6 separate regions of the Homo sapiens genome follow, and all the other regions are linked to region 1. Evidence: promoter capture Hi-C in 16 types of primary human blood cells and fetal thymus (Javierre and others, 2016). All regions are on one chromosome and are shown on one strand. The core of a region is centred on a gene start or on the middle of the fragment in contact, and the rest is flanking DNA. Distances in the headings are between cores, read along the strand shown.

The links. The method cuts DNA at HindIII sites, captures the fragments that hold promoters and counts their contacts. A CHiCAGO score of 5 or more calls a contact.
Region 2: a contact is called between a fragment that was not itself captured here and the fragment with the promoter of SNHG5 in region 1, in 1 of 17 cell types (total CD4 T cells). The highest score is 6.0, in total CD4 T cells.
Region 3: a contact is called between a fragment that was not itself captured here and the fragment with the promoter of SNHG5 in region 1, in 2 of 17 cell types (fetal thymus and non-activated CD4 T cells). The highest score is 7.8, in fetal thymus.
Region 4: a fragment that was not itself captured here is called in contact with the fragment with the promoter of SNHG5 in region 1 in 3 of 17 cell types (non-activated CD4 T cells, total CD8 T cells and naive CD4 T cells); the score reaches 12.5 in non-activated CD4 T cells.
Region 5: a fragment that was not itself captured here is called in contact with the fragment with the promoter of SNHG5 in region 1 in 3 of 17 cell types (non-activated CD4 T cells, total CD4 T cells and naive CD4 T cells); the score reaches 10.0 in non-activated CD4 T cells.
Region 6: a contact is called between a fragment that was not itself captured here and the fragment with the promoter of SNHG5 in region 1, in 1 of 17 cell types (total CD4 T cells). The highest score is 5.7, in total CD4 T cells.

Annotation. Positions count from the first base shown.
Region 1 is chr6:85,676,504-85,680,649 of GRCh38, forward strand. It overlaps SNHG5 (small nucleolar RNA host gene 5), which reads right to left and starts at 2,230. Exons shown (of 6, transcript NR_003038.2): 1 at 2,191-2,230; 2 at 1,633-1,685; 3 at 1,451-1,529; 4 at 1,292-1,372; 5 at 921-989; 6 at 504-688. It overlaps SNORD50B (small nucleolar RNA, C/D box 50B), which reads right to left and starts at 1,156; the gene lies at 1,086-1,156. SNORD50A (small nucleolar RNA, C/D box 50A) reads right to left here and starts at 865; the gene lies at 791-865. RefSeq lists enhancers at 1,811-1,870, 2,041-2,200. The HindIII fragment of the contact is 13,479 bases long and covers 2,073-4,146 here.
Region 2 is chr6:99,401,362-99,405,507 of GRCh38, forward strand. PNISR (PNN interacting serine and arginine rich protein) reads right to left here. Exons shown (of 12, transcript NM_032870.4): 9 at 3,242-3,341; 10 at 2,468-2,521; 11 at 1,179-1,349; 12 at 1-269. Among named protein-coding and RNA genes, the nearest start is that of COQ3, 9.2 kb to the left of the region's middle. RefSeq lists an enhancer at 634-1,833. The HindIII fragment of the contact is 265 bases long and covers 1,665-1,929 here.
Region 3 is chr6:73,514,692-73,518,837 of GRCh38, forward strand. It overlaps EEF1A1 (eukaryotic translation elongation factor 1 alpha 1), which reads right to left. Exons shown (of 8, transcript NM_001402.6): 5 at 4,007-4,146; 6 at 3,663-3,919; 7 at 3,339-3,573; 8 at 1,059-3,243. The coding sequence ends at 3,119. Among named protein-coding and RNA genes, the nearest start is that of EEF1A1, 4.3 kb to the right of the region's middle. RefSeq lists a silencer at 635-929. The HindIII fragment of the contact is 197 bases long and covers 2,347-2,543 here.
Region 4 is chr6:73,654,547-73,658,692 of GRCh38, forward strand. No RefSeq gene overlaps it. Among named protein-coding and RNA genes, the nearest start is that of SLC17A5, 2.6 kb to the left of the region's middle. RefSeq lists an enhancer at 561-650. The HindIII fragment of the contact is 2,167 bases long and covers 602-2,768 here.
Region 5 is chr6:96,927,116-96,931,261 of GRCh38, forward strand. The region is part of intron 1 of KLHL32 (kelch like family member 32); the gene reads left to right. Among named protein-coding and RNA genes, the nearest start is that of KLHL32, 4.5 kb to the left of the region's middle. The HindIII fragment of the contact is 4,655 bases long and covers 1-4,146 here.
Region 6 is chr6:96,523,819-96,527,964 of GRCh38, forward strand. UFL1 (UFM1 specific ligase 1) reads left to right here. Exons shown (of 19, transcript NM_015323.5): 3 at 564-592; 4 at 1,479-1,576; 5 at 2,503-2,617. Among named protein-coding and RNA genes, the nearest start is that of UFL1, 4.1 kb to the left of the region's middle. The HindIII fragment of the contact is 1,951 bases long and covers 1,425-3,375 here.

The DNA.
Region 1 (4,146 bases), core at 980-3,479:
TAAGGGCATCAGAGATCAAGGGTATAAACATAAACACAAGCAATGCTTTCAACTGCCATCTTACACACACTACCTTCATAGTGAAGGTACATTTTCTATCTCCAAACGTTACATGCCTAAGGCTTCTCTCTCATTTTATTTGGTAGTATCAGATAGCATTATGTAACCCATCCTGCCAAATGACCTCTTCCTAGATTTTAGCAAGCCTGAATGTCTTTACCAGATTGTTTTATCAGTAACCTTCCCTCATGACCATACTTAATAAACTGCTATTATTATTCTATTGTGCTCCTTATTTTCTGTATCTCATTCCCCCATTTCTCAACTTAAGCATCCAGGCTTTCAAAATTATAGTTACATCAAAACTAAATATTCCATGATTTGCTTAGTAACAATTACTTCTAATTCCTGTCTCTCCACTCTTACACTGATCCAAAAACCCTTACATTGTACCCTGCACAAACCCGAAACATTCACTCACAGTAATTTGATTACAAGGCTGGTTAGTGGATTTTCCATTTAATGCTCCCCATGTTATTTCAGGACCTATTTAAAAGTAATAACAAAAAGGAACATAATCCAAAATTACATGTTTTATTTTCATGTTTGTAAAACGAAGAGCTTTTTTCTGGATGGTTTTCTTATCAGCTTTTCACACAACAGTCAAGTAAACCTCGTGGCACTAGCCCTAGAAAAGGAAAAACACGAGATTCTTACAAGACTACAAACATTACAACATATGTAAAAGCATTAAAAGTATTAAAAAAAAATATTGTCCTTATAACGGTCCATCTCAGAAGCCAGATCCGTAAAAGTTTTTTTTTTTCAACAGAAGTTCAGGTTCGGGATAAGATCATCACAGATAAGACCAAGGACACAATATTCACTGATCTCTAAGCAAACAGAAAAACTCCACTTACAGAAATCGTTGCAACTTTGGAACTTCCAAGACAATCTGGCCTCTATCAATGGGCAGACAGCGACCCTCACTGTTGGCAGAAAAAAAAAAAACCCAGGATTTTATAACACAACTGTTATAAAATCACGGCAACAAAATTTACTCCACCTCTGAATTACTGGTCTTAATCTCAGAAGCCGAATCCGTACTTATTTTTCTTCAGGTTATCAGCTTCGGGATAGGTTTCATCATTGATTAGACCAATCAGACCTTGTATATGTACACATAATACATTAAACTGCACTTCTGTGACACTGACTACAAACCAAGGTAATGCTAAAAGGCAAGTATTATAGTACAAATACTACAGAACTTTTAAGCCATACAACCTACTTCAAAATGAAGCTGCTAGTCAGTCACATTCGACATTCATTATCTTCACTGGCTACTCGTCCACACTCAGAACGCTGTTCACTGACAAAAAAAATTTGATTTAGTCTAGGTGTGGATTAAATGCTATGCTCAATCATAAAGTACTAAAACAACACATACCTGTTAAAAGTGTCAGGTTTTAACCAAGCGATTTTCCATTAAATATTCTCCCAGATGTTCTGGAAGTTTTTTCGTGTATCTAACAAAAAAAAGTAAATTTCAAACGATGCAACAGTTCCTATTCCTGTAAATCAACAGGTTTACTCCTTTAGTTTGGAAACTAAGCTTAACTAAGCTCTTACCTTTGCATCTTCAGAGCTGCTCCACTGTGCCACTGAAGACAGCGCCATTGTTCCTGCGGGAAATCGGTATTTAAGCATTCTCGCAGAAATGTCACACTCCAAGGCGTTTTTCCACACAAAACCCTTCCCCTTCATTAATCCGAATTGCACACAACGCCGCCTTCGAACAGCTCAGTTTCAATACAGGGTCGAGGCTTCCCATTTTAAAACAACGCCGACGGAAGGCCTTCGCCATTTTAGTAAAGGCCCTTTGCTGTTAAAACTAACCCTCCGCCCCAATTAAGGTGGTTTTTCCGCCGCCGCTCAGGCACATGCCGGAGGCCAGCAAGTTCGGCGCCCGTGGCCGATCAGCGGTTCCTCACGCCAAAACTCGGAGCCTGTGGCCGTCACGACTCAACCTCAGTACATGTGGCAGTCCGGCCGCACGTTTCCCACGTGCAAGCTTTCAACTCTCAGCACTCTAAACTCTTCACTAAGATGTCTTCACAGGATTAAAGCTCTTAACTCGGCCTGCGCCACCATCTTTTGCTCGGATACTAGCCCGCAATACCCACTCACCTACCACCCGCCCAGACGCTCGCGAAGGCCGACGTAAAAGACCGAAGTGCGCAGCCAGTAGCTCCTTATATAGCCTCCCGGAGTCAGAACGAGGCCGTCCCGCCCTCTCGCACCTATTGGACATGGAAGTAGACAGGGGTGTGGTCGCGAATTAGCGGGAGCGCGCGCGGTGGCTCTTCTGAGGCCCGTTCCGCGTTGTGGAGCGCGCCGCAGGCCGGCCGCGCGCCCGGCCATTTCCCGGCGCGCGCCCGCAGGCGCACTGCGAAGCGTCTCTTACGAGTCTGGCGGCCGACTTGGCCCTACGTGGCGCGGGTGTGGCGCCAGAATTCAAACAGCTGCAGTTGGAAACGACGCTTTCGCCTGCCACGAGCCAAGTCCGTCCAGGACAGATTGGGTCCGAGAGTGGACACAAGTTTTGCAGCGCAGGGCGGCCTCAGCTTAGGACCGATTCGAGAAGCTGGGCTGGCTGGCTGGCTGGCGCTGGGCTGTAGTGGGCCCCCAGCGGAGGCCGCCGGAGGAGCGGGCGAGCCCTGGCCGCAGCACTCCGGGAAAGGGCAGTTGGCTGGCAGAAACGCTTGGGTGAAAAAGCGGAAAGCGCCACGTGAGAACAGCCCCGGCGTGCGGCCCTGCAGGGCCTCAGGGCGGGCATCAAGGCCCCATGGGGATCCATTCCTCCTCACGCTTCCTCGTGCCAGGCATCCGGTTACACTAAACGTGACCATACAAGTCTCCCTCAAACAGCGAACGTGAGGTTCAATACTCCATTTCGCAGAGGAGAAAACTGAGGCTTAAAACAGCCAGGTAATTTGCCTAAGGTCACACAGCTGAAATGCTTTGCTAATTTTTAACTTCTTTGTACTCAATTAGTTATATTGAAAACGAGAGAAAGATTAATTTGAGAAGTATCCCTGAATACTTTATCCAGACGACAAACACAAAATTCAAAAGCAGTGCTTTGATTAATTAGCATGTTCGAGTGAATATGTCTGCGTGTGTGTGTGTGCACACGACATTTGAACATTTCAGTATTTGAAAATTCAGGTCGTTCTTCACTTCTATATTTCAAAGCACTACTTATTAAAGTTGTTTATGTGTGCATTTGATTACGGTCCGATTCTGCTAGAGTGTGGGAGCAACACATCTGATTTCGTGCTCTGCTGTTTATTTTTTCTTAGAACAGTGCCTAGCATTAAGTAGGTTGTCGGTAATGGTTAAATGAATGAATGAATGAACAAATACATTCGGTGGCTTTTTAGAAAATTAGAATGAAGATCAAACTTCACATTCAAAGATAGTAGTGAAAAGCACTTTTCTCTAACAGGAACCTATATGATGAAGTATTGACTGGGCCGGGCATTTTGTCGGTTTTTGTATTACTTTGTAATGTCTTACATAAATTTGCATATTGCTCATAGTAAATAGTAAAACAAACAATACAGTACAAAAGGATATAAGAAGCAAAGTAGGCCGGGTGTGGTGGCTTATGTCTGTAATTAGAGCACTTTTGGAGGCTGAGGTGGGAGGATTGAGCCCAAGACCCTGTCTCTATTGTATTAAAAAAATTTTTAAAAAGAGTTAACAAAAAAAGCAAAGTGAAAGTATCTTTCCACATGCCTGGGAATCTTCTCCCTAGTTGTACTCTTCAGCAATACCACTGTTAACAGTTTTTGAGACTTCCTATGCAAATGCAAATATATGTACTTCGTTTTTCACATACAAATGGGATCTATATGTTCTGCAACTTGTTTGTCCGTCTTGTAAATATCATAAACATCTTTCCATATCAGTACATATAGATGACTTTTTTTTTCCAGACAAGGTCTCACTTTGTGACCCAGGCTGGAGTGCAGTGGCTCTATCTCTGTTCACTGCAATCTCGGGATCAAGTGATCCTTCTGCCTCAGCCCACCAACCATGTGGGACTACAAGCACGCGCCATCACGCCCTGTAATTTTT
Region 2 (4,146 bases), core at 547-3,046, about 14 Mb after region 1:
AGAGACAGTACTACTAGTACTACTAGTTCTGCTATTGCTACTGGAACTACCACTACTAGAACTTCCCGACCTACTCCTTCCTTGTTTTTCTTTTTCTTTATGCTCTTTTTTTGGTTCTAAAACTGATGTGGTTTCATTTGGAGTTCTCTTCTTTTCATTAACCACATCACCGTCTGCTTCTCTTGCTTCTAGTAGTGATAAACTATTTTGCTCTTTATGGATAAATTCATTCATCTCTTTTGTAACCCTTTCTGTTTGCTGCTTTTCTTCTGAAACAGAAAAAGACAAAAACACTAAGAAAATGTTCATGTAAAATTCTCATACTACCAAATGTCAAGCTACCAGACTGTAACAATAGAACACCATTTTCAATAGAATTACGATGCAAGCCATGTAAGTAATTCAAAATTTTTTAGTAACCACATTAAAAAAGTAAAAAGAAACAGGTAAAATAACCCAATATACCAAAAATATTATCATTTCAACACATAATAAATTTAAAAAAATTCTGTTCTCTTTTTCAAGTAAAGTTTTTGAAATCTAGCATGTAATTTATACCCACAGCACATGCCTAGCCACATTTCAAGTTCTCTATAGCTTGTAGTTAGTTACGTTACCCTCCTGGACAGTGTAGCAAAATACAGTATCAAGATGTAGAGGTGGGTGTGAGGCAAGTAGGAAAAGACTTCCCTTTTGTCCAACTAAAGCAAAATTTTAAAGGTAAGTAAGTGGTTTATAGAGAAGTCTTAGCTGCTAACTCTTAATTACCTTAGATTTTTCAAAGAAGAAATTCTAAGTAAATTTTCTCTTTTGTTATTCCTAGTATTAGGTAAAGTATCTTAAGTAAAAAACTTCTAGGTTCTCTATTATCCTTATATATCCTAGCTACAAATTACTTTTCAATAGTCTTACAAATATATTTTTCCCATTTCAAAAGTCATCTTTTTCATTTCAAGACTTTTAGCAAGAAATAAAAATACCCTAAATAGCTTGGCTTATAGCCACTGCAATAAATGGCTCCTAAAACAACCAAACAAAAATTGTGACTTTAGTTTCAGTTATATCACATATTATTTATAATATAGCCTTTATTTTATCCTTTGATATTTTTAGGTTAGTTAAAAAATAAAAAGAAATACAAAACTGGACCAAAATTAAGTCTAAAAGGTATACTACACCTTCCATCTGTTTATCATGTAATAGCTGCTGTTCTTTTTCTTTTCTCCAAAAAGCTTCCTGTTTTTGCCGGATTCGATGCCGTAATTCTTCATCATCAGTGTCAGATGACTCAGATCCTCTGTCACTCCTCTCATCTTCACTGTCTCCTGATCCATAACCACCCAGTCCACCTGTGTGCATAAAGCTCAGTCTATCATATGAAAAAAATTATACTATGCACTAAAAACTTTTCAAGGTCTGAGAAGAAAGTTCATTTCTTTTTTCATTGCCTTTTCCCAGAAGAATACGCTTATTCGGGGTGGGGAGAAGTATACATTCAAACGCTTAAGGAGTTCACAGAACCTTCAGGCAAAGGTTACTTAATATCTTATTCTTTCTGGACTATTTCATATTTTTCTCACTGTAAAGGAATGATAATGGGTTTGCTGTACTGTCCATACTAACCAACAAAACTACTTAACAGGGCAGTAACAAAGCCACGCTAAAGCTTAATGATGACCCTGAAAGTATTTCTAAAATTAACTTTTATTGTTCAAAGTTTAGAAATCCCTAGAGCTAAGCAATTTTTCCCTAAAAAAATTAGAATACTATAATCTCCCTGGTACAGAAATATTATGGTGCTGAAAATACTCCCCACCCTGAAATGATCTAAATAACCATAACAAAACCACATGGGCATTTGGTTCTACCCACTTCTCTGGGTCCTCACAAAAATTAATTTGAAATGAAGATGTGGAAAAGGCAAATTCAAGCTTTTACAGCCTTGATAATATACCATGCAAATAGTAAATTATGAACACATCACTACTATTTTACTATGATAAGATAAACCCTTTCCTCTATATTAAAACTTGACTTGCCGCAACACAATCTATGTAAGTTATTAAAAGCATTAGTGGATAGGTTCTTCCCTAAGGCATGTATGCAATAATTCTGAAAGTGAGCTTAGATACTATCATGGCTAAATTATGAATTATTAAGTACAAACTATAGGTGTTCATATATAATTATATATATATAAAATGCATATATTGGAGCAATAAGGAAATCTTCCAATATAACCTGCCCCAATAAACTATGAATTAACCATCACATTTATAAATTTCTCACTGTGAATGCGTTAGTCAAAAAAATAGGCAAACCTTTTTAGACAGGATGACATAACCCTAAGACCTAGGTTTTTATAAACTGAGTAGGACTAATACAGTTTCAAAATAGAACACGCAGAGAGACAATGTATGTGTGATTTTTCCCTTTAGGCCCTCTCACAAATATGGAAAACACTTACCGAGTCCAGTGAGGGAAGCCAGTGCACTGGACTGTGCCAGCTGTTTTGCAGGAGCTTTGTATCACATCAACAACAGGAACAACATGTTAACACAAATAGCCACGATTTCATAGTCATGAGTCTATGGTATTGTTAAATCTACTACTATTGCTGCTTTTTGGGGAGAGAAGAAACATTAAAAACATAACATTCATTTTAAACCAGTATCATGTCTGGCTTTGAAATTATAACTCTGATGTGAGCTGAAATTGGTTTATAATGAGAAAAAATGTTGACAGGTATATCTGTATGTCTACTTCTGAGATTATGACATGTAACTTAATTTTTGTTTTCAATACATTTTTAAGGTGTTACTAAAAATCTAGGGGTAGGAAATCACTTGCTTCTGTAAGAGATAAGTGGTAAACTAAAAATTGTAGGTAGATAATTCAAAATTCATTAGTCAAAATAAACTGTATCAGAAGTCACACAACAATGCCATGTTATCTATTAAAAAAAATCAGGTGAAATAAACTGAACACCTGGAATTTTCCACAATACATTTTAGAGGAAAACAGCATGATTGCTAATTTGTACTCATGTAGGTCAGATAAAACAAAAATATTTGTATAGCTTTAATATGGTGTCTACGAATCTAATCTTTAAGAGTTAAAACATGCAAGAGAATATTCAAATATCTGGTAGAAATCCAACAAGGACAACAAAAAAAGGCCAAAATAGTCATCAGAACCAAAATACCCCAGGAAAAGCAAAACCAGAAACACCAAAATATACCTTTCGTTGCTTTGCGGTGTGCATCTTTGGCTACGTAATAAATTTCTTCATCTGTGACATCCAGCAGAATTTCTGTTAGAAGCATTTTTGTCAGCAACATCTAAAAAAGAGCATTTTATACAGTATTTCTAATTATTATAGCTACTAATAGTGTGACATCTTCAAAAATATTAAAATGCAAAGCCATTTTTTTTTTCAGACAGTCTCACTCTGTTGCCCAGGCTGGATCATACTGGCGTGATATTGGCTCACTGCAACCCCTACCTCCTGGGTTCAAGTGATTCTCTTGCCTCAGTCTCCCAAGTGGCTGGAACTACAGGCGTGCACCACCACACCCAGCTAATTTTTGTATTTTCAGTAGAGATGGGGTTTCACCATGTTGGCCAGGCTTGTCTTAAACTCCTGATCTCAAGTGATCTGCCTGCCTTGGCCTCCCAAAGCACTGGGATTACAGGCGTGAGCCACCGTGCCCAGCCACAAAACCATTTTATAAAATATTTTTAGACATCAGAGCAGCCATTTCAAGGAATAAAGTATCTTGAACATTTTTCTGTAACATCAAAACTTCAACAAAATTCCAGGCTGGGTGCAGTGGCTCACACCTGTAATCCCAGCACTTTGGGAGGCCGAGGTGGGCGGATCACCTGAGGTCAGGTGTTCGACACCAGCCTGAACAACATGGCGAAACCTTGTCTCTACTGAAAAAATACAAAAATTAGCCAGGCATGGTGGTGGGCACCTGCAATCCCAACTACTCGGGAGGCAGAGGCAGGAGAACTGCTTGAACTCAGGAGGCAGAGGTTGCAGTGAGCCAAGATCCTGCCATTGCACTCCAGCCTGGGCAACAGAGCGAGACTCCATCTCCATAAATAAATAAATAAATATTCCGAAATCATACGGATCAA
Region 3 (4,146 bases), core at 1,195-3,694, about 12 Mb before region 1:
CCTTTTGCTTTTTTTTTTTTTTTTTTTTTGAGATGAAGTCTTTCTCTGTCGCCCAGGCTGGAGTGCAGTGGTGTGATCTTGGCTCAGCCTCGTAACTATAGGCACCTGCCACCACACCCAGCTAATTTTGTATTTTCAGTAGAGATGGGGTTTCAGCATATTAGCAAGGCTGGTCTGAACTCCTGACCTTGTGATCTCCCCACCTCAGCCTCCCAAAATGGTGGAATTACAGGCGTGAGCCATGACCTGGCCTGCTTCATTTTCTAATATCCCTTGCTTAGAATTATTGCAACATTAACGTTTATCTTCATTGTCATTGTCTCCCATAGAACCCACAAAACTAAACCTTGAGATCCATGGGCCTGCTAAAAACAGTCCCAAAGTAAATGACAAAAATGTTTAATTGCCAATAATTAGGTAAGAGAAAAAGGACAGTTAAATATCAGGGTAGTTCTAGCTGAATGAAATCTTTTAGAATTACACTAAAAAGTAAATGGTAAGTTACTAAGTTTGGAACTTCATCTCAAAAGAAAAAAAACCATGAAGATAACACAATGCTAAAATGTGGCCTGTCAGTGTAAACTGTCAACATTCTCCACTATAAAGAACTGAAACTGGGTTGAGGTTAGTAGGTCTGAACAAATCGTGTCCCACTAAGAGCACATGGGTTCTTCCTTGAGTCACTGCCGAGGCCCTGGCACATCTGAGATTTAAAAGATAAATATCAGATTAACTGGGAAAGATACAGTACAGGCAGATCACTTGAGCCCAGGAGTTGACCAGCCTTGGCAACATGGCAAAATACAAAAATTAGCCAGGCGTGGTGGCAAAAACCTGTGGTCCCTGCTATTCAGGGAAGATCACTTAAGCCCAGAAGTCAGGACTGCAGTTAGCCGTTAACTTCCACTCCAACCAGGGCAGGAGTAAAACCCTGTCTAAACAAAAAAAGCCAAGCACTACCTTGAAATCAACTGAAGTTAGCTCTCACTTTTGAAATCCACTCCAAAATTTGTAACCAATTCCAACATAGTAACTGTTAAAAGAAATGCCACTTCATCTTAAAGCTTAAAATTCATTTATTGTAGTGAGCAAGTTTGTAATGAATACCAGCAGGTGGTGCTCAAGCCACAGTTGTCTAAGACACTGGGTTTCACAGGAAGTTAATCTCAATCTCAGTATATGCAAGTAAACTGACTCATTCCTGCTTCCAGTGGGAACAATTTTTCAGTTAAATCTTGCTTCCTTGCATGTCAAGAATTCTCTACTGGTAAATCTTACAGGTGTCAACTTTCATTATCAGGGCATCTATTGGCCATCTATTAAAGGCCTTACCTGTTTTTTCTGTCATCCAGCAAATCTTAGACTATTTACTTGTGTAAACATTAGATAGCAAAGAAACTAAGGACAAAAATCTCTAGTTCAATTTAGACTTGATACCTCAGAGCACTGGCTGATGGGAAGGCATTTTATCTAATTCAGACTCAGATGAGGGAAAACGATAACACTTCATTACAGACTTGTCTATGGCCAATTCAAGTACCTTTGAATCTTGAGCAATACACATTGCCAGTCACTTTAAGAGGCCTTATCTCTTGGGCTGCTTTAACTCCTGCTTAGCATGTCCTTAAGAACACATGTCCTGGCCAGGCATGGTGGCTCATGCCTGTAATTCCAGCACTTTAGGAGGCCGAGGCGATCACCTAAGGTCAGGAGTTTGAGACCAGCCTGACCAACATGGAAAAACCTCATCTCTATTAAAAACACCAAATTAGCACATGCCTGTAATCCCAGCTACTTGGGAGGCTGAAGTAGGAGAATTGCTTGAACCCAGGAGGAGGAGATTGCAGTGAGATTTTGCCATTGCATTCTAGCCTGGGCAACAAGAACTCCATCTTAAAAAAAATTTTTAAAAACCATCACACAAACAGAAAGCATGTCCTTTAATTTTACCTATCCTTCAAACTTAAGCAAAAATTTTCCTTTTATAACCAAAAAAAAACCTTTAGACACTTTTACATATGGGAGGTCAGGCACAGTGGCTCATGCCTGTAATCCCAGCAGGAAGATCGCGAAAAGCATTTTTCAAATGCACAAATGCTTAAAGATTCAGGAGTAAGTGGGCTATTACACCTGTTAAGCCTATTACCATGTAGTTTCATTCCTAGTGACCAAGTAGACAAACTGCTAATTATCAAAGCATAAAAGGTATTAGACTCTGCAGGAGAAAAGCAATGTAGATTAGTCTAATTTTATAGCTACTTCAAATTGCCATCTTTTTCTATTAGAACCTTGTTCCTATTCTGAATAGCACTCAATAGAACTTGTGAAACCATCAAACTGGCATAAAGCTTACTCCACTGACTTCAAAATGGACCCTTCCACTCATAGGGTGTACACTAGCCACTACACTTATTTCTTATGTCATGGCAAATAGTCAACTTTCACTGCCCAGTCATTTTAACCCACGTTTCAACATGCACATCCCAGTAATTTGGAAACATTTTGTTTCCAAAGATTCACTTAACATTGGTTTAGCAACATGAAGCTTTCTATGCAACACAAGGACTCAGTTTTTGGCCTGTTTTAGTGACAGGCAATCAGCAACATGCTGCATTTCTCTCCAGTGTTGTAATCAAAGCAACCCTCCCATAGCTTTAAATGATATTCCTTCCCCTTCCAATTATGTGGGGGGAAAACAACCCTATTCTCCACCCAGAAGTGTTAACTCAAGAATTACATTTTCAAGAAGTTTCCAGATTCGTAAAACCAGAATTAGATGTCTTTCACCTAAATGTCTCGGTGTTGACCAAAGGAACACACAGGTTTCTCATTTAACTTTTTTAATGGGTCTCAAAATTCTGTGACAAATTTTTGGTCAAGTTGTTTCCATTAAAAAGTACTGATTTTAAAAACTAATAACTTAAAACTGCCACACGCAAAAAAGAAAACCAAAGTGGTCCACAAAACATTCTCCTTTCCTTCTGAAGGTTTTACGATGCATTGTTATCATTAACCAGTCTTTTACTACTAAACTTAAATGGCCAATTGAAACAAACAGTTCTGAGACCGTTCTTCCACCACTGATTAAGAGTGGGGTGGCAGGTATTAGGGATAATATTCATTTAGCCTTCTGAGCTTTCTGGGCAGACTTGGTGACCTTGCCAGCTCCAGCAGCCTTCTTGTCCACTGCTTTGATGACACCCACCGCAACTGTCTGTCTCATATCACGAACAGCAAAGCGACCTATTAAAAAAAAAGTTAATTATTACCCAAAGTACTGTTCAGTTGTATTTTTCATCTTTAACACAACTTTTTTACATTTAAGTAGTCATCCTTACCCAAAGGTGGATAGTCTGAGAAGCTCTCAACACACATGGGCTTGCCAGGAACCATATCAACAATGGCAGCATCACCAGACTTCAAGAATTTAGGGCCATCTTCCAGCTTTTTACCAGAACGGCGATCAATCTTTTCCTTCAGCTCAGCAAACTTGCATGCAATGTGAGCCGTGTGGCAATCCAATACAGGGGCATAGCCGGCGCTTATTTGGCCTGGATGGTTCAGGATAATCACCTTGGAAAAAAGATTTGCATTCAGTGCAAATCCAAAGTCTCAAATGACTTTAGCCTCTGCAATAAGTTAATGTTACTTTAAATTGTTACCTGAGCAGTGAAGCCAGCTGCTTCCATTGGTGGGTCATTTTTGCTGTCACCAGCAACGTTGCCACGACGAACATCCTTGACAGACACATTCTTGACATTGAAGCCCACATTGTCCCCAGGAAGAGCTTCACTCAAAGCTTCATGGTGCATTTCGACAGATTTTACTTCCGTTGTAACGTTGACTGGAGCAAAGGTGACCACCATACCGGGTTTGAGAACACCAGTCTCCACTCGGCCAACAGGAACAGTACCAATACCTAAAAATATTTACAGCATACTAAATACCTATGAAGGCAGACAGTACTCTATCAACTCAAATTCAACTTTGTTTACAGCCAACTTACCACCAATTTTGTAGACATCCTGGAGAGGCAGGCGCAAGGGCTTGTCAGTTGGACGAGTTGGTGGTAGGATGCAGTCCAGAGCCTCAAGCAGCGTGGTTCCACTGGCATTGCCATCCTTACGGGTGACTTTCCATCCCTTG
Region 4 (4,146 bases), core at 435-2,934, about 12 Mb before region 1:
GTGGCGCAATCGCAGCTCACTGCAACCTCCAACTCCTGGACTCAAGCGATTCTCTTCAGCTCCCCCAAGTAGCTGGGACTACAGGAGCATGCCACCACATCTGGCTAATTTTGTTTCTACTTTTTATTTTTGTAGAGGCTTGGTCTTATTATATTGCCCAAGCTGGTTTCGAACTCCTGGGCTCAAGCAATCCTCCTCGGCCTCCCAAAGTGCTGGGATTACAGGCGTGAGCCACTGCTCCTGGTCCTAAAATAGCTTTTAGGCGGAAAAACAGCAATGGAAATTTGTTGAGTCCTATGATGTTGCTGGTTTTATAGGTAAAAGTAATCAACATAGGTAGTTTCATATGGTTCGACCTATGGAATCCTCTGATGTATGTGTGCATGCTTTATCTCCACGATAGAATTTGGATAGATTGTGCTAGCATTTGCGGACTCTGAAAGTGAAACTAGGAAAACCCAGCTTGCCTTGGCAGGGCAGATCTGGATCCGCCAATAAAGGCTGTCTCTGTGGAGGTAGAAAATAAGATGTAGATGCTCTCGGAGAGTTTGGTGTAGACAGGGAAGACCCACAAGCCACTAATTCAGTAAACCAGGTTAGAAGCTTAGTGAGGTTCACGTGAGAACAAAGGGGAGGGTCCTTTACCTAGAAGGGAGGGCGAGGATTTCTGTAGGCATCCCTACCTCCAGATCAGTAAATGCTAGAAAAGTTCTCAAGTTAAAGCAGCAAATCAAGCCTTGTTTCTGAGTTACTGAATTACCATGTAGATTTTTACACTCTCTAAGGGTTGTAGAAAAATGCAATTTTCAAACTGGATTATGCAGAGTCACCTGGCAAATCCTTTTAAAATGTAGATTCAGATTCAGCAGATCTGGTGTGATGGTTAATTTTATGTGTTAACTTGCTGGTTGTCTTTGGATGAGGTTAACACTAAAATCATTGAACTCTGGGTAAAGATGGCTGCCTTCCATAATCTGGGTGGGCTTCCTTCAATCAGTTGAAGGCCTATCTAGAATAAAAAATCCGACTCCCCCACTTCTCTTGCCCAAGCAAGGGAGACTTCTCCAGCAGAGTGTCCTCAGACTTCATCTGCACCACAGGTCCTCCTGGGTCTCCAGGCATGTGCACCATCATCTGTTTTGGGTCGAGTTGGCCAGCCTATATTGTGAAAGCCAAAACTTTATTACCCAAACTACCCAATTGGGGCTGTTTCTCTGAGAAGCCCAGTACATCTGGGATGTGCCTGAGATTCTGTATTGCTAACAAGCTCCCAGATGACCAAGGTTATAGATAACTTGGGCCAGGGAATATAGTTGCAACAGACTTGAAAGACTTCAAACCAGAGGAATTCTTTTTTTTAATATTTTTTATTTTAGAAATTTTAGGTTTACATAAACGTTGCAAAGATAGTACAGTGAGTTCTCCATACCCTTTGCTTAGTTTGACCTATTATTAAGATCTTACATTAGTATCATGCATATATCATAACTAACGAGCCAGTATAGATAATTATTAACTGAAGTTCATACTTAATTTGCGTTTCTTTAATTTTTACCTAATATCCTTTTTCGGTCCCAGGATCTCATCCAGGATGCCACATTACATGTCTCCTTAGGCTCCTCTAGATCGACAGTTCCTGACTTTCATTGCTTTTGCTGACCTTGACAGTTTTGTAGAGTACTGGTAGGTTTTGTAGAAAGTGTCTTAATTTGGGTTGTCGAATTTTTTTTTGAGACGAGGTCACGCTCTGTCGTCCAGGCTAGAGTGCAGTGGCACGATCTCGGCTCACTGCAGCCTCCACCTCCCAGGTTCAAGCGATTCTCCTGCCTCAACGTCCCGAGTAGCTGGGACTATAGGTGCATGCCACCACGCCCGGCTAATTTTTTGTATTTTTAGTAGAGATGGGGTTTCACCATGTTAGCCAGGATGGTCTCCATCTCCTGACCTCCTGCCTCAGCCTCCACCTGCCTCAGCCTCCCAAAGTGCTGGGATTACAGGCATGAACCACCACCCCCGGCCTGAATGTTTTTCTTATAATTAGACTGGGGTTATGGATTTTTGAGGGAAAGGTCATAGAGGTAAAGGGCCATTCTCATCATGTAATGTCAAGGGAATGTGCTGTCAACTTATTTATCACTGATGTTTATCAGTAGTGATGGTAAGCCTCATTGCATGCCTGAGGTTGTGTTTGTCAGGTGTTTTCACTGTGAAGTTAACTCTTTTCCCCCGGCCTTACTTTTCTCTTTGGAAGGAAATCAGTATGTGCAGCCTTCACTTAAGGGGTGGGGAGTTATCTATACTCCACCAGTTTCAGGGGAAGAATTCTTTTGTTTGGGAGATTTGTTTATTCTCCTACATTTATTTACTTATTCAATCATTTATTTTTATTAGTATGATGTCATGGTTATTATTTTATACTTTGGGTTATACTCCCAACACTATGTTATTTATTTTGTTGCTCAAATTGTTCCAGCTTTGGTGACTAAGAGCTCTTTCAGTTGGCTCTTGTGTCTTGCATGCCTCCATTGTTGTGTTTTTTGAGCATTCCCTTACTTTCTGGTACAACAAGATGTTCCAGGCTCATCTTGTGTATTCTCTACCCCTGCCATTTCTATAAGGAGAATGATATTACAAACTAACATCTGAGCATTGGGTGTACTTCTTCCTATTGCAGTGTCATTGATTCTAGGTTCAGAGGAGGTACTTTGGTTTTTGTTTTTATAATCTTCCCAAGAAGATTTTGAGACAGGATCTTACTCTGTCACCTAAGCTTGAGTGCAGAGGTGTGATCACGGCTCCCTGTAGGCTCCACCTCCTGGGCTCAAGTGATCCTCCTACCTCAGCCTCCCTGGTAGCTGAGACCACAGGCATGTGCCACCACGCCCTGCTAATTTAAAAACATTTTTGTTAGAGACAGGGCCTCCCTGTGACGCCCAGGCTGGGCTCAAGCAGTCCTCCTGCCTTGACCTTCCAAAGTATTGATATGATAGGTGTGAACCACTGTGCCTGGCCCCAAGAAGATTAAAAAAAAGTATGATGACACATTTTTTCCCCCTTATATCTGGCATTTATTTCCTGATTGCACACTACCATAAAAGATCATTGTTGGTGTTATTTATTTATTATTATTATTATTTTGAGACAGAGTTTCACTCTTGTTGCTCAGGCTGGAGTGCAGTGGTGCAATCTCAGTTCACTGCAACCTCCTGGGTTCAAGCGATTCTCCTGCCTTAGCCTCCGGAGTAGCTGGGATTACAGGCGCCCACCACCATGCCCGGCTAATTTTTTGTATTTTTAGTAGAGATAGGATTTCACCATGTTGGCCAGGCTGGTCTTGAACTCCTGACCTCCGGTGATCCAACCATCTCGGCCTCCCAAAGTGTTGGGATTACAGGCGTGAGCCACCATGCCCAGCCTATTTTTTTTTTCTCCTTTCCTGGTCTTTTTTTTTTTTTTTTCTTACATGGTTTGTTTGAATCTGGATCCATTCATGTTCAGACCTCACATACCGTAGACATCTCTCACATGTCTTTATGTTTTCTCCTTGCAATTTCTTCCTTTTTCTTTTCTTTTCTTTCTTTCTTTCTCTTTCTTTCTTTCTTTCTTTTTCTTTCTGTCTCTCTCTCTCTTTCTTTCTTTCTCTCTCTCTCTTTCTTTCTGTCTCTCTCTCTCTCTCTCTTTCTTTCTTTTTTTTTTTATGGAGTTTCGCTCTTGTTGCCCAGGCTGGAGTGCAGTGGCACGATCTTGGCTCAGTGGAACCTCCACCTCCCAGGTTCAAGCAGTTCTCCTGCCTCAGCCTCCCGAGTAGCTGGGACTATAGGCATGTGCCACCACGCCCGGCTAATTTTTGTATTTTTAGTAGAGACGGGGTTTTGCCATGTTGGCCAGGCTGGTCTCAAACTCCTGACCTCAGGTAGTCCGCCCGCCTTGGCCTCCCACAGTGGTGGGATTATAGGCATGAGCCACTGCGCCCGGCCTCATATTTATTCTTTAGTTGATACTTTTCCTTTATCAACACTTTAGACTAGCACTGTTCAGTAGAAATATAATGCAAACCATAGATGTAATTTTAAATTTTCTAGTAGCCACATTAAAAAAGTAAAACAAAGCAAAACAAAAATGGGGAAATTAATTGTATGACATGCA
Region 5 (4,146 bases), core at 771-3,270, about 11 Mb after region 1:
ATAAAAGACCATGAAGTGCTCTAAAATAGGAATTTTTGAATCTGGTGAAACAAAAGCATATATAGTTTAGAACTTATGTTCCTGGCTTAATGTTTTTTTTCTTGCCATAAGGCCAAGAAGTGGAGAAAAACTCAGTTGAGTGCTTGTTATAGGAAGACGTAGGATTGGTCAGCAAATGGAGCATCCTGAGCCTTTAATGAAAATGTCTGATTAAAGTGTTAGATAATTAGGTAAAACCCACCACTGAATACTGCAAGATGCCAAAGGAATGAAAACATAAGTGGGAACTCAGAGACATTAAATCCCAGCACCCTGGTATACAAAATGTTTACTCCTTTAATAACTATCTTGTAGTGAGGTAAATACGTCTTGAGAAGCTGCCATTTTCTCGTGTTTCTCCTAGAGCTACAGAGATGCTAGTGGACTTCACTGAAGTAGGTAAGTAGTCAGAGAGGAGTGTCATTTTATTTACATTGTCTCTTTGGTGGATCCAGAGAGGTGTAGTTAAAAGGAAAAGCCAAAAGATTTGAACAGCGACTTCTCATGGTTCTCTTATTCCAAAATCCCCCTCTGGAAAGATGCCTTAACAGTAAATAAAGCCATTTCAGTTTTCCTTTCATGGAAATATGTTGCACCTCTAGTAAGGAGCTATGCAGGTGTGTGTTAGTAATGTTCTAACAAAGTCCTGGCTGAGTGCATGGAGATACCGTCTCTGCCCTCAATGATTCAGAGCAAACACACTGCTCCTGGCAGCGTCCACTTTTCGAGCTCTTCTGTGAGCAAGCTACTTCCATATCGGCTTCACAATGACTCTATAAAGTGGGCATCTTATTTCCATTTTACAGATGGAGGATCTAAGACTGTGAAGTCCAATTGGAGCAATGAAAGAAATCTTGCAACTTCAGCTGCTCTTCTCTTTTCACATTCCTTCTTCTCAACTGTTACCTAATGCAGGTTATAGACATGTACATAATTGTGATTTTGAGGGAGTTATGTGTTAAATGTTACAATGGAAATATAAGATTCCATAGAAGCTCAGACACAGGGAAAAAATTTTAAATGTTCTGATTGTGGAGATCAGGTCAGTCCCTAGGTAGTAGGGGGATTAGTGCTGGAACTTGATGGCTGGGTATGATTATATTAAATGAAAATCCTTATAGCTATTGAAAGATGGGAGTCTCCACCAGACAGTCTGTTGGAAATGTGGGTTAAGAGGATGATGCTAGTGATACCTAATATTGATGAGCTTACTGTAGCTGAGCGAGTGATGAAAGCTGTGGAAGAACTATGGTCTGGAAGATGGAGTGCAGCAGAGGATGCAACTGCGGATGGGTGGGAGGGGATGGAGGAAGACAAATTTGGGAAGGAGACTAGGAGAGGAGTTGTAGCCATAGAGGAGAATCTGGAGAATGTAGTACTGATTCTTCTAAAGACTGAACATAAAGTCAAGGGACAAACCAAGTATTATATTCTCTATACAGAGACTGGCACACAATAAATACCCATAAACCATGATGATGTGTCTACATTTTTAATGTCTGATGGCTGGTATATAATTTCCTCTCATGATATCACTTTTCTATAGAAAAAGCATACACGTTTTATATGAATTCATTTGGAGTGGGTAAATATATGGATTTTCAAAAATGGGAAAAGATTCTGGCAAATTAGATGATAAAAGATGTAATCGTTTTTTTCTAGTAGAGTCATAGACTTGGAGGCTAAGGAGGCTCTTACAGATACAGATTTTAAGGTTGCATATACTTTTGATGAAGTCTTATATGTTTGGGACAAGTAAAGGAAAAATGTGGGCTGTAAACCATTTGAAAAGCTGTACTCAAATCTAGACAGAAGGCTTTGGTGACAGATAAATGTACTATAATCTTGATCCTGGTTGGGTCAATGTTTTTATTTATTACATCAGTAGAGATATGAAAGAAATGTGACAAGCAAGTGGGAGTTAGACTTGCATTTAACTACTAGATCTTCAGTGACTGGGTGGGAGAGCTACCTGTTAGAATGTTCAGCACAAGGTAACAGGATGAAATAAAATAGAAGGCGTCATAGCTAGAGTCTAGCACTGGGGATATTTGTCATGACAGGAATTTACTTTAAAGTTGGAGGGATTTTAATTCCTATCAAGTACAATATAAGCCAATATGATGATTTGCTCTTCACAGATATATTTGGCAAGTAATGGAAAATATTATGAAAAAATGATACTGTAAGGAGCCCATCTTTCTTAATAAGCAAGGGGCTTTTTGGTGACAGCAGAGATAGATGTGGCTATGTCTCTGTGCCAGGCAGTGTCTTACTTCCCTTCTCTGCCTATAAGACTGCTTATTATTTCAGAATTGTTTTCCAATTTGTAGAGCAGAACTTAAGAATTTATCCTAGAACATTTTACTTTCTCTGTTGTTGAGAATTAGTAAATAGAATTCATTTTGTTCACCTTTTTCCTGGCATTTCTAATCAGAACCTTCATTCCCAGGCCCTTCTTGTCAAGATCTTTACCTAAGAGGAGCTGAGCAATGTGAAATGCTCAACTTTCTTCATATTTCTTTTGTTCTTTCCCTATTTCGTATACACATTGCAATGCATTAATGTATTTAATTTAACTTGATTTTGACATATGGCACTATAAGTTTTGGTGAGATTTTTAAACGAACTATGTAGGAAAAAAAACAGTTTTGCAGACTTGACTTGGAGTCAGATTAGTTCCACATATGGCAGAAAGCATTGAAAGCTGTAAATTTGTCTAAAATAGCTTCTTCCCTTGCAAGGTTGGAGTCACCAACCTGATAAGATAATTTTTAAATGAAGAAGAAATGTCTTTGGCAGTTTTCATGGACTCTTGACAACATTTTCCTACATGTTTATTTGAGGCATAATGTATTCTACTTTCCATGCCAGATAAGCCAGTACCAGTTACTTAGAAGCAGGCTACCCCCTCCCTTCCCCACCCAGATGATACAACCCGTTTGTTATACAAGATATTGATGGAAAAAGAAGTCCCATCCTAGCTGATTGCTTCAGTGAGAACATATTTGATGCTAATGGCACAGACAATAGAGCAGTGGAGGAGGCATTTTGCAATTTTTTATGACACAAATTCTGATACCTCATTTAAAATCATTACTTAGAAACCTTATTATTTATGATTTTTAGTTCTACAATTGAAAGTGCAAGGTAGCATGGCACAACCAGAAGAACCTGAGCCTTGGAGCCTGGATTTGAATACTAAATCTGATACTTCTTGGTTCTGTGACTCACAGTCCAGTTACATATCCCCTCTAACTCTCATTTTCCTCATCTGTAAAATGGGAATTATGTTACCTAGATTATGGAGTTGTTTTAAGATTAAATAAGAAATGCATAGAAACATCTAGTACATTGTTGGTGTGTAATAAAATCTCAGTACTTATTAATTCCTTCCCTCTGCCTCCCCTTTCCCCACTCCTTTGCCTTCCTCAAAATGATGGTGGAATTCATTTAAATTTCCTGAGCCATATAAAATGTTTTAATCTGGTGTGCCGACCTTGGAGCAGAGCTACCCTCATTATGCTATGGAGCTTTTAGTGATGCAGTACGCTGCTTAGATGGGCTCTCCCAGGGAGAGGGATGCATAGCTTGGACTCAATGATGTCTTTTCTCTCTGACAAGCCACTGTTCCCTCTTTTATGCAGCTCCTGGAGCATCGGCCTGGTCACAAGGAAAAGGAGGGAGGGTCAGTCAGTTTCCTCCTACCCAGGCAGCTCTCTGGGCTCTATCATAGGATCTCTTCAGGGGTCCACATCTGCAAAAAGCACAGAGCTGCCCCTTGTGTTCTCTGTAGAATTAATAGTGGCAGCATCAAGTACCTGGCGGGTACAGACCTCCTAGCCTTTCTGCAAGGTCAATTTCTAGAGCCCACATCTTTCTTGACAACTAGAAGTTTCCCTTCATGCTGAATTATGTAAATTTTATGAAAAGGTCAAAAGCTCACCAGGATAAAAAACAAACAAACAAACAAAAAACACTCCTCAAATTCTCTTTCAAGTCAGATAGGATTAAAATCTTCCCGAACAGAATACTTTCTAGTTAAATCTATGTTTTTTTCTTTTTCTCTGCACCACGACCTCACTCATTCCCTGTTCCCACCAGCAA
Region 6 (4,146 bases), core at 1,150-3,649, about 11 Mb after region 1:
AAGCATATTTGAATACTATTTGATTAAAATAGAAGCAATTATGAAAGCCTCTCTTCATATTATCAGAGTGTAACATTGGTCTTTGTCTTTTTTTATTTATCTATTTTCCTTCATAGTACCTTTAAAATATGAGCTATAATTTGAATTACTTAACAGATTTTCTTATGCTGATATGTAGAAGCCTACCTTTTAGTATCAAATAATTGAAAAAAAGTTCATCTTAATTTAGTTGTCAATATCTCTTTGATCACAGTAGATAAATTCTGAATTGTGAAGGGAAATGAATACCCTTCATAGATAGAGCCAATTTGTGTGCCAGTTGGTGCTCATAATTGGCCTGATGTTATTTAAAAAAAAAAAAAAAATTGAAAGTAAGTTATTGCTTATGGCTTCAGCCATGAAGACTTAGCCATCAGCTAATGGTGTGTATTTGAAGACATTGATTATTCTGGCTCTCTGTTCTATGCAGGACTTTGACCAAAACTTAAATGTTAGAATTTATAGCTTTGGGTTGGTATGTACGCATAGATCATTTAAAATAAATGAATGTCTTTTCTTCAAAGGTCGAGTAAACATTGTTGATCTACAACAGGTAGGTTTTAAATTTATAAAATTTTTGCTTTACTTTCTCAATTTTTTGATACTGTGAATTTGTTCAAGTATTCACTAATGCTGGTATCATATTTTGTGTAGTGTTTATAAAGAAATAGTTATATAAGCCTCGCTGATACACTGAATTGATTTAACAAGTTCTGATACATTAAAATGATTTAATAAATTCGGATTTATTGAAATGATTTAATAAGTTGGCCTTATTAAAGAGTTGGCCAACTCTTCCCTAGTTGGCTTTCTTATTCTTAACTTTTTACCAAATGAACTCATAGTTATTTTATGTAAGTATAGAGTTTATGTCATTTTGGGAGAAAAGTCACCAGTTTCATGTTTATATGTTTTTAGTATATGAAAGTAATAGAGAAACATTTTTAAAAGTAGAAGCTATTTTCAAAATATACAAATATATATGTCATTACCAAGGTACACTATAAACAAGAAGCCAGCGAATTTTCTGTAAAATGCTATCTGTTATATGAATATGTAATTTACTGCTTTATATAAACTTACTAGCAAGTGACAGTTTAATTCTTCAGAACTGAAAATAACTAAGCAATACACCTCTAATTTTTTATTTGGCCAATGCTTTTCGTATTATTTCAGATTGATTCAAAATTTAAGAATAAGCAATTTCTTTCTTTCTTTTTTTTTTTTTGAGATGGGAGTCTCCCTATGTTGCCCAGGCTGGTCTCAAACTCTTGAACTGAAGGGATCCTCCCGCCTCATCCTCCCAAAGTGCTGGAATCCAGGCATGAGCCACCATGCCTGGCCGGCAATTTCTTTAAAAATATAGTTCTAAGTATATAATTTCAAGCTTAAGAAACAATACAAACTAATCATTAATAGATTTTGTATTTGTTTTCCAGGTAATTAATGTGGACCTGATTCATATTGAAAATAGAATTGGTGACATTATTAAATCAGAAAAGCATGTTCAGTTAGTGTTGGGACAACTGATAGATGAGTAAGTACAATAAAGTACAAATTTAAGAGCACTTTGTTTATTTTCTTTCTTTTTTTTATAGTGTTTAAATTTAGGCCAATTATGGCCAGTTAGACATTTCATTTATAACTCTTACAGTGTTGATTTTCATGATAAGGTTTATTTCACTTAAAAAGTAAGTGTTTAAGCCACATATGGTGGCATGTACCTGTAATCCCAGCTACTCAGAAGGCTGAGGCTGGAGGATTGCTTGACCAGGAATTTGAGACCAGCCTACGTAACATAGCAAAGATCCTGTCTCAAATTAAAAAAAAAAAAAAAAAAATTCAGTGTTAATGTATGGAATACTTAGAAATAATATAAACTTCTATTTTTTTCTTAATAAGAAAACGTAAAACGTAACTTTTACGTTCCTTCCCGTATAATCTTAACTCTGAAAGCAAATTTGTTCCAAAAATGTTAATGAAAATCAAATACAAATTTCCACTTAAAAAAATCCCAGCATGCCAGCCTGGGCAACATGGCAAAACCCATTTCACTAATTAAGTTTGCTAATTAAAAAATTAGCCAAATGTGGTGGCTCGCACCTGTAGTCCCAGCTACTCAGGAGGCTGAGGTAGGAGGATTGCTTGATCCCAGGAGGTCAAGGCCACAGTGAGCCATAATCATGCCATTGCACTCCAGCCTGGGTGACAGAGTGAGACCTTGATGCAAAAAAAAAAAAGAAAAAGAAAAAGAAAATGTATTGTTTGATTAATCTTACATTTAGCTACACTAATGAGAAAAAAGTATTTGTTAGAATATGAGTGATGAGTGGTGTTCATGTACACACACATTTCATTACTTTTGGGGCATACTTCATTTCAACGGAAATTAAACATAAAATGAGGAAACAGAAAAAACATTCCTAATTCTTTTTTCTATTATTTTCTTGTTTTCACTATTAGGAATTATTTGGATCGGTTGGCAGAAGAGGTCAATGATAAATTGCAAGAAAGTGGTCAGGTCACCATATCAGAACTGTGTAAAACTTATGATCTTCCTGGGAACTTTCTGACACAGGTATTTTTTTTCCTAATAATACAATGTGTCTTTTTACCAAAGGATTTTAAACGAAGACTTTGAATGGAAGGGGGAAAAAAAAATGAGACTTCCTCACCATCATTTGATTTATTGCAGGTGTCTGACTTGATATATGTTGTACCAATATATTTGGGGGGTACTTCTAGTACATTAATGGTTCTGAGGAGGCAGTTTAAAAATGATTGTAATCATCCTAAACCAAGAGACACCCTAAAACTAATTTATAGACTAAGTTCTAGGGCTGCTTTGATGCAATTAGCAAATGTACAATAAATGCATGGATTTATTTAATGCTTTTGATACCAGCTATATAGAAACTGTAACCAGACAATTAAATTTCTGATTGCCCAGTTAAATTTTAAGAAATAATTGATGAAGATAATTTATAGGGGGTACTACTGGCTTCTTGTGAGTAAAGGTCAAGGATGCTGCTAAACATCCTACAATGTACAGAACATCCTGCCAACAAAGAATTTTTTTGTTCCAACTGTCAGTAATGCCAACATCTTTTGACTTCACCATTTATCCTCTTCTAAACAGTCAGTATGATAGGAAGAAGAACCAAGGAATCTGACATTCTCTTAACTTTAGGTATTTGTGTCAGTACTCAAATATCTTATGTGTGATAACAATGCTGCCTGAAAACATAGGCTATTTTCTTGTTTACTTTTTTCTGTTTTTTTTTGTTTGTTTTTTTAGAATCATAGAAATTCATTTGGTAGAGTGGAAAGGACATAAGCTTTTGAGATTTTTAAAAGACCTTGATTTGAATACTGTCTGCACCACTTATTTGACATCAGGAAAATCATTTCATCTCTTTTATGCTTCACATTATGTATCTGTAAAACAGGAAATATTGTCTTTTTTATAGGCTTCATTGAAATCTAGTGAAATATCTTAACACAATGGAGAAACTAAATAATGCTAGTTCTTTTTATATTTACTGAAACAAGGGAGAAGCCAAATCTCTCTTTAGGTATCTATCACTTTAAGAAACTCCAACTTGCAAAATTGGCCAAACCGTAATTGCATGAGATTAATGTATAATACAAGCAGATTTACTTACTCATATTAAGAAAATGAGCTTCCCTAATTCCATTTAAAATACCATTTATAGTATAGATCTGTTTTATGTAGTATTTCAGGAGCTGAAATTATATTTTACATGGGCAAACATATGTTAATCACAGGACAAAAAATATATTTTTAAAATACTTCTTTAAAGTATCCAGCTCAAATCCAAATGATTTCTTATAAAACTGTTTCTGAATACATTTTAGAAACGTAGTTTTTAATATGTTTCAGTTCCATTCTGAATATAGCAGTATTCTAAAAGCTCATTAAGTTTGAAAAAAACATTTTTCTATATCATAAAAATAATGAGCTGAGCTGACTTGAGTAGATTTAACTTATCTTAAAATGTGAAATATGTCCAGACTTATTTCAGATGTACCTGATGCCAGTCGTAGTATAGCTGTGGAGAAATACTCTGCTGAACTTGAAAGAAG